Linked DNA regions of Homo sapiens: region 1 is linked to region 2. The links are contacts of gene promoters, found by promoter capture Hi-C in blood cells and fetal thymus (Javierre and others, 2016). All regions are on one chromosome and are shown on one strand. The core of a region is centred on a gene start or on the middle of the fragment in contact, and the rest is flanking DNA. Distances in the headings are between cores, read along the strand shown.

Region 1 (2,997 bases), core at 42-2,541, 2.3 Mb before region 2:
CTAGATGTTTCAAAAAAAAATCATGGTATTTTCAATTTTCGTATGTGCTTTTGTGTAGAGTTGTATTCCAATAATAATGGAAACTGTGACTTGGTAAATATGTAAATCAGTTCTTGCTAAGTATTGGCAGTAGTTTTTAGCTAACTTTCTTTGCTGTGAACTTGCTGATCTTGCTGATTATATGTGGTGCTTATCTGTTCAGAGAAGGTAGATATAAAATGTTGAGAACAGAAAGCATTTTCAGGATGGTTTTTACTTTACATAACAGGGAATCTAGGCATGTGTCTTAGATACAGGGTCACAATGCATCTTACTTTTCCCTTGCTAATACAATTGAGAGAGAGCTAAAAGCCTTTAATGGCCTTTAGAAGAGCAGAGATGCTTCATTAATGCAGCATTGAAGGTAAAAAGTTTAAGGATACACAGTTTTTGAACTGTCATAGCCAAATACTTTTCTTTGTTCATCAGAAAAGCAGATGCAAGTTGCCAAGTTGACATCAGGGAAAGGTGTTTCTCTGGGGATGCCATGATTTCATATCTCCTGGCTTACATATTAAGAGATAGAAATGTTTTCTTTTTGAAATGTCTTTGTGGTTTAAACTCAAGTGACATCGACTGCAAATAGCCTGAGGCAAAGTTAGCTTTGATTGTTCCTTTGCTTTGAATGATCTAGTCACTTTAGAAAAGATAAATCATATCAAGGGGAAAATGCTTAGAAATGAAATATGGAAGGAAAAGTATTTTAAACAACACAGATTTGTTTGCTGAAATAATGATTAACCTATCAAATTTCCTGAAACAAAGATTTAATTTTGACTTCTAAATTTTATATTATATTTAAACACATTATTTCTAGTATTATATTATTATTGTTAACTCTAACATTGCAGAATATAAACTCATTTCCTTTTGTCTCTTCATTTCTGAAGGGTCTGGGCCATCTGTATTCCTGCCTGGATAGGCTGTTGTAGTTTCCCATTGACCTTAATCACAGGGCATGGTACTACTAAGAGATGCCCTAATTGATCTCCTGTATTCCATGCATACCCGTCCTCCGTTGTGAAGTAGTGGACCGATTTCATCTTGATAGTCTGGGTCAATCACCCCAGCTAACACTGTAACTCCCTTCTTAGCCTGTTGACTTAAAGGTAAGAGGAGCCCAAAGTGTCCAGGTGGCAATCTTAACTTCCAGTTTAATGGAATCGTTGTTGTCTCTTCTGGTGGCAGCATTCCTCCCTGTGGAACTAACATGTCTAGGCAAGCAGAACATAATGTCACAAACACAGGAAGCAAAAATTTTGCTGGTGGATCACTAGGGGTGATGGTGAGTGGTTCCACTTCCAATTCTACCCCTTGATTCCTGGACCCATGAATCCTAGCTATGAGAGAAATAGTACCATATATTGGACACTGATTCAGAGCATACACAGCCTTCTGGAGAACTTTGCTCCAGCCCTGCAAAGTATGGTCACCTAGTTTGCATTGTAATTGTGACTTCAAAAGGCCATTCCATTGTTTTATCAATCCAGCTGCTTCAGGATGATGGGGAACATGGTAAGACCAGTGAATTCCATGAGCATGAGCCCACTGACACTCTTCTTTAGCCATGAAGTAAGTGCCTGGGTCAGAGGCAATGCTATGTGGAATACAATGATGGTGGATAAAGCCTTCTGTAGTCCATGGATGGTAGTCTTGGAAGAAGCATTGTGTGCAGGATAGGCAAACCCATATCCAGAGAAAGTGTCTATTCCAGTAAGGACAAGCCTCTACCCTTTCCATGATGGAGGAAGTCCAATAAAATCAACCTGTCACCAGGTAGCTGGCTGATCACCATGAGGAATGCTGCCATATCGAGGGATCAGTGTTGGTCTCTGCTGCTGGCAAATTGGGCACTCAGCAGAGGCCGTAGCCAGGTCAGCCTTGGTGAGTGGAGGTCCATGTTGCTGAGCCCGTGTGTAACCTCCATTCCTGCCACCATAGCCACTTTGGTCATGGGCCCATCAGGCAATGATAGGTGTAGCTGGGGAAAGAGGCTGAGTGGTGTCCACAGAACAGGTCATCCTATTAACTTGATTATTAAAATCCTCCACTGCTGAGGTCACCCATTGGTGAGCACTCTCATGGGATACAAATATCTTCACAGTTTTTAACCCCTCAGAGGGGTACATCTACATACCTCTTCCCCAAATTTCTTTGTCACCAATTTTCCAATAATGCTTCGTCCAAGTCCCTGACCATCCAGCCAAACCATTGGCTACGGCCCATGAATCTGTATATAACCACACATCTTGCCATTTCTCCTTCCATGCAAAGTGCACAACTAAGTGCACTGCTCCAAGTTCTGCCCACTGGGAAGATTTCCCTTCACAGCATCCTTCAGGGATGCCCTAGAAAGGGGCTGTAGTGCTGCAGCTGTCCACTTTTGAGTGGTGCCTGCATATCGTGCAGAACCATCTGTGAACCAGGCCCTAGTCTTCTCTTCCTCTGTCAACTGATCAAAGGGAACTCCCTGTGAGGCCATCGGTGCAGGATGGGGAAGAGAAGGCAGGGTGGCAGGAGTGGAGAACATGGACATTTGAGCCACTTCCTCATGTCGCTTATTTAAGCCTTCAGGACCAGCTTGAGTCCAATCATGTATATACCACTTTCATTTGATGATGGAATGCTGCTGTGCACGACCCGCTTTATGGCTAGATAGGTCAGAAAACACCCAGTTGAGGTTGCATGGTGACTTGATGACTCATAGTCAAATGTTCAGTTTCCACCAAAGCCCAGTAGGCCAAGAGTTGTCTCTCAAAAGGAGAGTAGTTAACTACAGAAGATGACAGGGCTTTGCTCAAAAATTCTAGAGGCCTCTGCTATATTCACCTATGAGGGCCTGCTGAAGGCTCCAAATAGCATCCCTATCTGCTACTGACACCTCGAACACCATTGAATTTACTATGTCATATGGCCCAAGTGGCAGAGCAGCTTGCACAGCAGCCTGGACCTATTGCA
Region 2 (2,724 bases), core at 203-2,702:
ATGTGTCATTGCGACTCAAGTAGGGTGAGCAGGGTAGAGAAGGGGGTGTGGCAGGACCTCAGAGGGAGGGGTAGAGCCTCGGAGAATAGAAAGTAAGGTGTTTGAATTTGATTGAGTCAAGGGAAGGCACTGGAAGGTTTTTTAAAGCGCCATCTTCTTTTGGTTTTCTCTTGGCAGCCTGGATTCTGAGCATGCAACATTCGACTCTAACAAGGCTGACTCTGGTTCAACCAGGCTGTGTGGATGAAATCTACGACCTCCCCAAGCATTTGAAGTTCATGTTTTCTTTTTCTTTTGAGATGGAATCTTGCTCTGTTGCCCAGGCTGGAGTGCAGTGGCGCGATCTCGGCTCACCACAACCTCCGCCTCCCGGGTTCAAGCGATTCTCCTGCCTCAACCTCCCAAGTAGCTGGGATTACAGGTCTGCGCCACTGCGCCGGGACTAATTTTTGTATTTTTTAGCAGAGACTGGGTTTCGCCATGTTGGCCAGGCTGGTCTTGAACCCCTGACCTCAGATGATCCGCCCGCCTCGGCCTCGCAAAGTGCTGGGATTACGGGCGTGAGCCACCGCGCCTGGCCTGAAGTTCTTTTCTACAGAACTTTGCTGTCCTATATACATGAGGGTACACAGCCAACTGGGCACCTGGCACGGGTCTAGTCCAAATTGAGATGGGCTGTTAACTCTAAAACACACACTGGATTTCCAAGACTTAGAACCAACGACAGAGCGTAAAAGATCTAATTAATTCTTTTAGACTGATTACATGCTGAAATGACAGGATGGGCTAAATTAAACACATTAAAAGCAGTTTCACCGATTTCTCTTTACTCTTTAAAAATGTGGCTGCTATTAGAATTACCTACGTGGCTTGGACTGTGTGTCTACAGGGAGCTCCTCTCGCGCACTCTGTGCACTCAAATTCCGCCGGTGTCCTCCGCCGGAAGGGCCGCCTCAGAAAGGCCGAGCCCCCGGCCTGGCTTCTCCGGTTTCCCGGGAAAGCGTTGCAACCACGGGCGAGGGCTCCGAGGTCGGCCCCGAGGGGTAAGGGCAGCCCTTGCCTTCGCGACATCCATTCACCCGGCTCCGCAGGTGCAGCGCGCGGTCCTCAGAGAAACCCCGACCCTCGCGTCGCTGACCCGACCATTCATTAATCGGGGGCTTCCCAGGGCCCAGGAGCAGCCTCGGGCGCCCCACTCCCCCATTCTCGCGTAGCCGTCCCCTTGACCGCGTCACACCGAGCGGCACAACCACCAGGGAAGGTAACTGGGAGGGCGCGACCTCCCTCAATCAACAGCCACCTCGGGCTGACTGAGCGGACCCAGGTCCCTTTCAGCCACAGCGTTCCCTCGGCTTCCTGGGCCTCACGGCGGCGGAGGCGTGGCCACAGCCTGAGAGGCGGGTTTCCTGTCCAGTTGTGAATAACTTCCGACGTGTGCCGGAAGTTTCCTCAGTGACAATCAGGAAGTCGGCGTGTCGAGTGGCTCTTCCTGGCTGCTGAGGCGGGTTAAGGTCTGAGGGTCTTGTGGGGCCACGGCGCTGATCACCAGGTGTTTGGCTTGGTCGGTTCTTATTTCTCGCCTGGCAATGGCGACGTACACCTGCATAACTTGCCGGGTGGCGTTCCGCGACGCGGACATGCAGCGGGCCCACTATAAGACGGACTGGCACCGCTACAACCTGCGGCGGAAGGTGGCCAGCATGGCCCCAGTGACCGCCGAGGGCTTCCAGGAGCGAGTGCGGGCGCAGCGGGCCGTCGCGGAGGAGGAGAGCAAGGGCTCGGCCACCTACTGCACCGTTTGCAGTAAGAAGTTTGCCTCTTTCAACGCCTACGAGAACCACCTCAAGTCCCGGCGTCACGTTGAGCTGGAGAAGAAGGCCGTGCAGGCAGTGAATCGGAAAGTGGAGATGATGAATGAAAAGAACTTGGAGAAAGGACTGGGCGTGGACAGTGTGGACAAGGATGCCATGAACGCGGCCATCCAGCAGGCCATCAAGGCCCAGCCGTCCATGTCTCCCAAGAAGGCGCCCCCAGCGCCTGCAAAGGAGGCCAGGAATGTCGTGGCCGTGGGTACTGGTGGCCGTGGGACCCACGACCGAGACCCGAGTGAGAAACCACCCCGGCTCCAGTGGTTTGAACAGCAGGCGAAGAAGTTGGCAAAGCAGCAGGAGGAGGACAGCGAGGAGGAGGAAGAGGACCTGGATGGAGACGGTGATGGCCCTGTCTGGGCGGGGAGGGTAAAGAGGAACTTGGCCCACCCTTAAGTTTCCAGATTTATACTCGAGATGGGTGTGTGTGTGTGTTTGAGAGCTTTTAAGTAAAAATGATGAGGGAAGGTGGTTTAGACGCTTTCTGAAGTGCCTTATCTGGCCAGCAGGTTTGGCTGTTTAGTTCACTCAATTCATTCTCCAAGGCCTAAAACCTTGTCTGGAAAAAGAAGTGCTTAATGCATATTTGGAGAATGAATTGATGCCTTCTGTGTTTTGGATGAAGAGGCTTTTAACATATGCACAGGAGGACATGCTATCGTCATACCAGCTGCCGTGTAATTTGCGATTCTAGTGGGTTTCCAGTTATGATGGTTTTGCACTTAATTTAGTTGAGTAAAACAGAATGAGGGGATCAAAACCAACTCAGCCAGAAATTTGGAGCTGGAGCCAGCACCCTCACCTCTTTGCCTTTATGAGCTATTTATTCCTTACTTCCCTCATCCCACATCCTATT

Evidence for each region. The method cuts DNA at HindIII sites, captures the fragments that hold promoters and counts their contacts. A CHiCAGO score of 5 or more calls a contact.
Region 1: a contact is called between a fragment that was not itself captured here and the fragment with the promoter of ZNF622 in region 2, in 1 of 17 cell types (activated CD4 T cells). The highest score is 7.6, in activated CD4 T cells.

Annotation. Positions count from the first base shown.
Region 1 is chr5:18,749,656-18,752,652 of GRCh38, reverse strand. No RefSeq gene overlaps it. Among named protein-coding and RNA genes, the nearest start is that of LINC02100, 5.0 kb to the right of the region's middle. The HindIII fragment of the contact is 4,711 bases long and covers 1-2,997 here.
Region 2 is chr5:16,464,528-16,467,251 of GRCh38, reverse strand. It overlaps ZNF622 (zinc finger protein 622), which reads left to right and starts at 1,452. Exons shown (of 6, transcript NM_033414.3): 1 at 1,452-2,211. The coding sequence starts at 1,587. RefSeq lists a silencer at 45-267 and an enhancer at 2,075-2,144. The HindIII fragment of the contact is 4,211 bases long and covers 1-2,724 here.